Linked DNA regions of Homo sapiens: all the other regions are linked to region 3. Evidence: promoter capture Hi-C in 16 types of primary human blood cells and fetal thymus (Javierre and others, 2016). All regions are on one chromosome and are shown on one strand. Each heading gives the region's core, a stretch centred on a gene start or on the middle of the fragment in contact. The rest is flanking DNA. Distances are from core to core; before and after follow the strand shown.

What was found. Contacts are between HindIII fragments. The CHiCAGO score rates a contact against its expected background, and 5 or more counts as called.
Region 1: a fragment that was not itself captured here is called in contact with the fragment with the promoter of CD1D in region 3 in 1 of 17 cell types (fetal thymus); the score reaches 5.4 in fetal thymus.
Region 2: a fragment that was not itself captured here is called in contact with the fragment with the promoter of CD1D in region 3 in 1 of 17 cell types (fetal thymus); the score reaches 6.1 in fetal thymus.

Annotation. Positions count from the first base shown.
Region 1 is chr1:158,420,218-158,423,130 of GRCh38, reverse strand. OR10K2 (olfactory receptor family 10 subfamily K member 2) reads left to right here. Exons shown (of 2, transcript NM_001004476.2): 2 at 2,204-2,913. The coding sequence starts at 2,265. Among named protein-coding and RNA genes, the nearest start is that of OR10K2, 4.6 kb to the left of the region's middle. The HindIII fragment of the contact is 800 bases long and covers 1,129-1,928 here.
Region 2 is chr1:158,403,431-158,406,385 of GRCh38, reverse strand. No RefSeq gene overlaps it. Among named protein-coding and RNA genes, the nearest start is that of OR10T2, 5.4 kb to the right of the region's middle. The HindIII fragment of the contact is 5,103 bases long and covers 1-2,955 here.
Region 3 is chr1:158,179,482-158,182,420 of GRCh38, reverse strand. CD1D (CD1d molecule) reads right to left here and starts at 1,526. Exons shown (of 6, transcript NM_001371762.2): 1 at 1,259-1,526; 2 at 700-966; 3 at 111-389. The coding sequence starts at 1,319. RefSeq lists an enhancer at 996-1,055 and a silencer at 2,468-2,517. The HindIII fragment of the contact is 7,344 bases long and covers 1-2,939 here.

The DNA.
Region 1 (2,913 bases), core at 279-2,778, 240 kb before region 3:
AAGCAGAAAACATCCTTGCACTCTTCCAGGAGCAAGGAGAAGCAAATGTACTTACTTGCCCTATTTATATATTTAGATTAAAAGTTTTAGAAACTAAATAGTGCCTGTGTTATGATATTTCTCCAAGTATACTTAGTTCAGCCTTTTCATAACATATATAAAGAAACCTAGAAATAAATAAAAAATACATATCATTTTTCAAGGATGTATACAAGATATGTCTCCTGAGTGCTCCTATAATTTCAAATGCATATCCATCATCTCAATCACCACATTTTTAATAATATCTTCTGAATGGGTCTCACCCTTGAAACATGAACTAGAGGCTCGGGACTGGGTCTTATTTAAATGTGTATCTTCATTGCAGACCTAGTAGCTGACACATTGTTATAATCACACTGCTTAATACATGTGTACTATCTGATATTCTTGATTTGGTGGTTCTTAGGTAACATAAAAATGCATTGTCATTAATTTTGTTATTAATATTAGTTAAGGTGATTTTAATAATATACTTTTAATGGGATAATTGTAAGGTTATCTTTATGATTTTTCTCTCACTTATTTGAATTCTAATTTGCTCTACAGAGCAGCAAATGTACTAGGAATTGGGAATCACCTTAGGTACACAGAATTCTGATGACCAGATGCTCTCTTCAGTGCCAGTTTTCTATTGTAAACAGAGATTTCTCTTTCAGATTTAAATGGGCCAGACTTAGTTTTATGTGGTGCAGACATTCTTAGCATTCTTGACACTGAGCAATTCTTGTGCCTAGAAAGAAATAACACTGAGAATTCTCTTACTCTGTGAGTTCTAAGAAGTCTGTGCTGCCCATGAATAAAATAGATAATGTGGCAAGTTAACTCTCTTATTTATATAACAATTATTTATTGAGAAGGTGTTAAGTACTTAATATGGTTCTAGATGCAGAGGAGAACTCAGGCAAAGATACATAAAATTCACATATTTTCCTCAAAGGTACAAAATCTGGTAGAGAAAATAGATATAAGAACAATTCATTAGAATATTTCAAAATTAAGTAAATATCACATAATTTTGGCAATCAATGTCTTATGTGAGTTCTGAGGAAGAAACAACTCCTTTCACCAGAAGGTAGCAAGAAAGCTTTCAAAAAGGTAGATTTTAATGGAGGCTTCAGAAGAACCATAAAATATCTGTAAATAAAAGTGAATAACAAACTAATATGAGCAAGGAATAGAGGCAAGGAAGTCCAGAACATATTTGGGCAATAGTGATACATCCCATTAAGGTCTGAAAATGAGCACAGAAAGATAGTTTATTTCCCCAAAGGAAAGACTTTTGGAAACAATGAAGAGTTTGAACTCTATACTATAGCCATAAGTAAAATTTTTGAAGAGTGAAGCAATATAATACAATTTATATTTTAAAAGATTAGGCTGTCATCACGGGAAAGATGGGTTGCAGAGATGTAAGAGTGGCCATGGGAAAGGAGCCATAATGTGACTTCAGAAGGATTTAAGGGAAGTGATGAAAATGGACAGAATCCTGAAGAAAGATTGTGGTCCTCCCTGCCAGAGGAAAGACTCTGATATAGGTATTAGAGAAAGTGTAGACATATTCCACCTTGAAATTAATGAATAGAAAGAAGAAGATAATTTTTTTCCACTTTGGGACCAGGATAAAGCTACAGAAACAAGAGCCAGCATAATAAAAGTATAACTGACAATTCCTGCCAGGAGGTAAGGAAAACAGTGTTGAAGAGAATTTGAATCTAAGTTATGGAGAGACTAAAACTAAGAGTGGGGGTTTAGGTGTAACGAGAATGACAATTAAGAACCATTGAGTTATAGACAACTATGGTATATTCAGATGGTTTACTTTGCAACTGTAGGAAAGATTTTTTTTTTGAGAGAATACAGATACAAGAAAGCCAAAAAGACAAGCTTTGCAAGATAATCTAAGAGTGAAAGGCTAAGAATCTGAGCAACAGCCTCATGATGGGAATGGAGGTGAAGGGTTGTTTGAATCTGAAAAGTATCAAGAACTTTTTGGCTATGGTGTTAGAACTACTATGGAGACTCAAAGTTTGATGAACGCTTGCCTGATTTTAGCAACATCATGTCTTGGAAAAACAAGAGGGAGGAGAAAAGATGAGTTCAGAATTCAAAATCTGAGAACGCATGCTGATGATCAATTTTCTGTGAATCTACTTATTTTCAGGGATTTCTTTTGGTGCTGACTCCTCTTCTCTCCCTAATTGTCTCCTGATGATGTATGCTCCATGGAGCGGGTCAATGAGACTGTGGTGAGAGAGGTCATCTTCCTCGGCTTCTCATCCCTGGCCAGGCTGCAGCAGCTGCTCTTTGTTATCTTCCTGCTCCTCTACCTGTTCACTCTGGGCACCAATGCAATCATCATTTCCACCATTGTCCTGGACAGGGCCCTTCATATCCCCATGTACTTCTTCCTTGCCATCCTCTCTTGCTCTGAGATTTGCTACACCTTCATCATTGTACCCAAGATGCTGGTTGACCTGCTGTCCCAGAAGAAGACCATTTCTTTCCTGGGCTGTGCCATCCAAATGTTTTCCTTCCTCTTCCTTGGCTGCTCTCACTCCTTTCTGCTGGCAGTCATGGGTTATGATCGTTACATAGCCATCTGTAACCCACTGCGCTACTCAGTGCTAATGGGACATGGGGTGTGTATGGGACTAGTGGCTGCTGCCTGTGCCTGTGGCTTCACTGTTGCACAGATCATCACATCCTTGGTATTTCACCTGCCTTTTTATTCCTCCAATCAACTACATCACTTCTTCTGTGACATTGCTCCTGTCCTCAAGCTGGCATCTCACCATAACCACTTTAGTCAGATTGTCATCTTCATGCTCTGTACATTGGTCCTGGCTATCCCCTTATTGTTGATCTTGGTGT
Region 2 (2,955 bases), core at 56-2,555, 220 kb before region 3:
GCAGACAACTAAAGTGATGTTTGACATTTATTTCATGTCTGACAAACAGATAAAAGTAAGTTATAGTGTTTTAATTCATGTCTTTGCACCCAATTGCCAATTCAACACCAATTCCCAAACCCAAAACCCCTTGATTGTGAGGGTAGATGGGGAATTTTGAGGAAAGACACAACAGCATGGCCACAATTATATCCTGAGAATCTTGTTCCAATATTTCCCTAGAGAACTTTGCCATCTACTAAGGTATCTGTGTACTGGATAAAGAAAAATACCCAGGCCTTCTAGGGATCATAAGATATACTGTCTATTAACCTGTTCAGATCCCAAGAGACCCAAAATGCTGCTATGATCTACTTTTCAGAGTAGGGACTTATGGAGCTAGAGTATTAAATGGAGTCTTGGCTCAAGTTTACCAGGGTTTAAGGCTGTTTGAAACTGAATTTGGCTCCTGTGAAAGTTGATTTTTTTCTTGTTTAATCTTGTTCCTATTATATTCCCTTTTAAATGTCAATTCAAAGTTCAGGAAGTTCACCAGCCCCATCACTCCTCAGTGGTTCATGATCTATATATTTGCTCTTTACCTCGGTGTGTCTCAACTTCTTGACTTTTTGGTAATATCTTCCGGAATTGTCAGATTCTCCTTGGGAGCTAATTACTCCCAAATACCAGGACAACATCACAGGTTAGTTGCTTTTCCTGAATACTAATTCTTTGTTAAAGTCTGATGCCTTCGATCTGATTTTTTTCCAATATTTTTGTAGTTTTTCTAGTGATTACTAGTCTGTGGGCTGACTAAAAATTTCTAGCTCACTATTCCCCAAAGAGAAACTCTAATTAGTATACTTTAACTAAAGTAAATATCTTAAAACATAATATATACACTAAATGGGACGTAAATCATAAGGGTTTAGCTTGATGAAAGTGTTACAAATTGAACATATCTAATAAATAAATTAAATATTATGAGAACACTGTAGGGTTCCATTGTACTGCCTCTCAGGTATTGCATTTATAAATATAACTTCTATCCTGACTTCCACCACCATCATTGTGACCTTTCCTTGATCATTATATAAATTGAATCATACTGTGCTTGGCCTGTATCTCTACATATCATGTCTATGAGAATCTTATTTTCTTTTTGTTTTTCTTCAGTAGACTTTATTTTTAGAGCATATTTAGGTTCACAGAAAAAATACACAGAAAATATCAAATTCCGTTGTGGCCTCCCTCTCCTGCACAGTTTTTCTTATTATTAACATTCTGAATTATTGCTGTACATTTTTTATTTATTAAACCAATGTTGACACATTATTATTAACCTAAGTCCATATATTTTACATTTGGGTTCATGCTACATATTTTCAGAACTGCAAAATGTCATAGTCACAATTAGAGTATTATACAGAATAGTTTCACTGTCCTAAAAATGCCTTGGGCCCCATTTATTTTTCCCTCCCCTCCTTCTCTGAATCCTTGGAAAACACCAGTGGTCATTTTATTATTTCAATAGTGTTGCTTTTTCCAGAATGTCATGTAGTTGGGACCACATAGTATATAGGCTTTTCAGACAGCTCTTTTCCACTTAGCAATACACATTTAAGGTTCCTCAATGACTTTTCATGGCTTGATAGCCCATTTATTTTTCTATTTATCTGTTCTTTCACCAATACCACACTGTCTTGATTACTGTAGCTTTGCAGTAAGTCTTGAGGTCAGATAGTGTCAGTTCTTCAACTTTGTTCCTCTCCTTCAATATGTTTTAAAATGTTGACTTTATTTTTATTCAGATAGGGTAAGACCAGCAGATAGAGAGATGACTGCCATTGAAAGATAGTTGATTACTTAGAGTTCCTGAGTGCCTGAGTGGGAAGGTGGCATATCACGCCACACATGAAGTGCCATGGGGAGAACACCAGAGCACAAAGTTCAGTTGTAGGCAGAAAGCAAAGGGAAGTTTTGGAGAGTCTTCAGAGTGGTTTTGAGGCAAAGCAGGGTAAGTGGTTTTGAGCAGGTTTAGAATTGGATAGTTTAAACAGTTTCACTGGGTTCCAGGACTATCCTTAGTTGTCTGACACCTGGCCCCAGGGGGATTAGGAAAAGGAAGTAGTGTCCCTCAGTCCAAGAGCATGCAAAAATAGGCAATTGTGGGTATGACTTCTGGATGTGTTTGACTGCACATGAAATTAAATTCATTTTCTATCTCTATGAATCTGCTAACCCTAGGAGGGCTGCTTTTTTCCTGGTCAGGAAGGTCCAGATGTCAAAGCATCAAATATGGGAACTAGAAAATCTCTTTAATATCTAATTTTTGACTCCCCCATTTGTTAGATTCTGGTCTTTAATTTCTGTCAGCCTCATCCTGTGATTCTCTCAAATCAACAGCTTGAGTTTGTAATTTCATACAGGTAAATAAATGTCCTCAGAATAGAAGCAATTTCCAGTGTTCCTCTGTGGATTTTATTTTCTTCAGATTTTGGCCTAAAAATTCCTACTATACCTTCAACTTGTCAATAGGTTTCTAAAATTTTTTAAAATTTTTCCCAGCAATTTTGTTTTCAGAAAGTTTTCTCATGTGACCAGCCAAGCCACTACAAGAAATAGTTCTCAGTCTTCCTCCTCACTCCTTTTTCCTTTGAGTGTCCTAGGCACAAAACATTCAGTATTGACTTTTTATTCCTAATTCTTATATTTCTACTTGGCTTATTATTCCAGAATGTTTTTATTCATGAAGTCATTTGCTGAATCTCGGCCCTGGCTGTGGTCAAGGCAATCCCTGCTGGGGGTGCTCATCCTTGTAGCTGCCCTGTTGTTAATGTCACAATAACACTGAACATCATTTTACCTCTTATTACACATAGCTCTGCTTACATCTGTCTTCTCTACTAGAGCAGATCAATTCATACATTTTATCTTTGTATCACTATAATGTCTCATATCCTGCTCTCTAAATCA
Region 3 (2,939 bases), core at 277-2,776:
CTCCTGGGCCTTCCTCTTCTTTGAATGCTCAAAGGGATGAGAACCCTGGAATGGAAAAGCCCGTTTGGAGCCCTGAAGTGGAATGCAGGGAGTAAGGAAGGCAGGCTGACCTTGCTTCTTCAGTTCCGACTTCCCTGACTCAAGGAGGCCACTGACAAATTGGGGGCAGGTGCCATTAAGGAGCCACTGCACTGTTTCCCTCGTCCACTTGTCCTGGTTGAGCACTTGAATGGCCAAGTTTACCCAAAGTGGGGCCTCTTGGGTTGGCTCCCAAGAAGTTCCTTGGAAACTCAGGATATCTTTTCCTTGAAATGCTACATGGAAGAAGTTATTTGAGGCGTTCCCAGGGTGCACCTCACAGCCAGCGGACACCTGGAGCTCCAAGGGATCTGTGGAGAGGAATGGAGAAAGATCAAAGAAGGGTTTAAAAGACTGGGAGAGATGAAAGAGAAGAAATTGATGTGCAGGTTATAATGGGGACCCAGACTTCAGGGAAAGGAAAGTAAGTGACCTGGAGTAGGCAGGAACGAGGGACACTTTGAGGAGTCAAAGCCTGGGACATCTCCAGGTAGAAGGGAAATCAGAAGAGGGTGGACAGAGCAGAGAATCTCATCAGGTGGTGCCACAGTCTCCCAGTTGAGTTTCTGTGGCCATTCTCTCCCCTTGGGTACCGGCCCAGGATCCTATCCCTCAGCTCACAGGATAAGCGTAGCATTTTGGCGAATTCCTTCACGTCCCTGGTGAAGCTGCTTCGATAAACCCGAAATATATGCTGCAGCGTCTCCCACTGCTGGTCGCTGAACGTGCCCTGGGACCAAGGCTTCAGAGAGCGGACGGTGTCCGAGTCGTTGCTCCAGCTGTGCGTCTGCAGCTCCCCCAGCCACGCCAAGCCGTCGGTGCGCGTCCAGCTGCTATTGGCGAAGGACGAGATCTGGAGGCAGCGGAGGGGGAAAAGCCTTTGCGGGACTGGGAGAGAATGAAGATTGGAGGCGTGTAGCAAGTGGCCGGGAGAGCAGCCAGCATAAAGAGAAGGAAGAAAGAAACAAGAGGAGATGAGCTTCAGGAGGCGGCTGATGCCAGCGAACTCTGTGCCGCGCTGCCTCTCCCCGGAGCCAGGGAGCAGCGAGTTTTCTACCTAGATCGCGCCAGTGCGTCCCGGGTCTCACCAGTCCCCATCAGGCGTTGCCCTCCCCGTCCCTACCCAGCTCCCTCTCTCCGCCCTCCCGCGAGTGCACTCAAGCGCCCTCGTTCCACCCACCTTCAGCGCTTCCCCAAGCCTGGAGGAGCGCCCAGAGCAGCAGAAACAGCAGGCACCCCATATCGCCCGGCGTGGGGACCTCGCGGAGCGCCGCTGCGCGCCGCCCTCTGACCTGCGCACTCTTCTCCCCCGCCGCTCAGCTCACGTCCCTTTCCGCTGGGTGCCAGCCAATTCCCAAGCCCAGACCCCGGCAGCCCTCCTCGCTGGGCTTGCCGGCGGTTTGCTGCTTCTGCCGAAGGGCGCCCTCGCCCTTAGCTGTGCGAGCTGCAAAGAGGTCGGGGTCCCAGGAATCCTGGCGCCGCCGCTCACTTCAGTAGGTTTCACAACCGGCGTGTCTCAATTTCCTGTTTCAAAGGAGACTTTGGGTCAACGTGTGGGACGCTTTACAACCATTATTTATGTTTTGGAAGCAGGACATAAGGTTGTGTCTGTGTTACAATTCCAACCATGGTAAAAATGCAAAGGGAAAAAAGGATCAAAGTCCTTGCTTTAGCAGTACATGTCTCTAGGTGGAAAGACTATGAGTGATCTTAATTTGCTTTACATCTTTATGTTTTCCAAAATTTCTCAAGTGCAAGTACCACATTTACAATAAAGTAAACGCATGAAAATTAATTTCCTCAGTTGCACATTGAGAGAACTGGATTAGGTTGGCTACAATTCTTTACAACTGTCATATCCCAGGATTCCTCCACCTCAGTGTTCCCTAGCCTCTCTTTCCTCCTGTCATGGTCCTTGCTCTCCCCTCCCCGGCCTCTGCTCTGTCTTCCCTGTCTCCTTTTTGGGGACGCGCCCCCAGACTCTCTTCCTCCTCTCCGCCCTAGGCTCTGCCGGCATACCTTCTCCTCTGGCTCCTGACTCATTCACTTTCCAAATATGCGCCTCTGTCTTAAACAGTAAGTGTAAGATGACAGTGTGTACCTGGACAGCCAACTCGCCACTTCTCACACTGAAAATAAGAAAAAGTGACCAAAAATCGTGGTTCTAAGCCTTAGCTCACCTGGAGGAAAAGACTCCTCTTTGGCAACTCAGAACCTGGGCTGCAGCCTGACACCTCCCTCTCCCTCACTCTTTTTATCCAATCTATCTCCAACTCATCTCTATTTCACTTCTTTTTGAATACCTCTTGAATAAATTCCTTTTTCTATATTTCCACCGTCACCATCACCCTAACCTTTTGACTGATCTCCTGAAGTAGCATTCTTGGGTAGAAAACAAAATCATTAGCACGGCCTGCAAGATTATGCGCCCTCTAGCCCTGGTGTCTACCTTTTGACATCACCTCACACCCCAGCATCATTTGCTCTGTACTGTAGCCTGGCTGTTAGCTTTCAGTTCCTCCACTATGCAAAACCTCTTCCTGACTAAGGTCTCTGCACAAAGTTCCCTCTACATGAAAGCTCTTGACCTTCTCCTCACCTCACCCCCTCCCAATGCCTAGTTATTTCCACTAAGGTATCAGTTCCAAGGTCACTTTCTCAGGGAAGTCTTTCCAGATCTGCCAGACTGTGTGACCCTAGGCAGGAGAAGTAGGGCAGTCCCAACCTCCACTGCTTGTACACTAACTGGCTTTGAGAAGCCATCCTCTCAGCATGTAGCAGAGTTTATAATTATAGAAATGGCCATATGTCTGTCTCCCTCTGTGTCCTCTTCTAAATCAGCTGGAGAGGTGCCAGAAGGC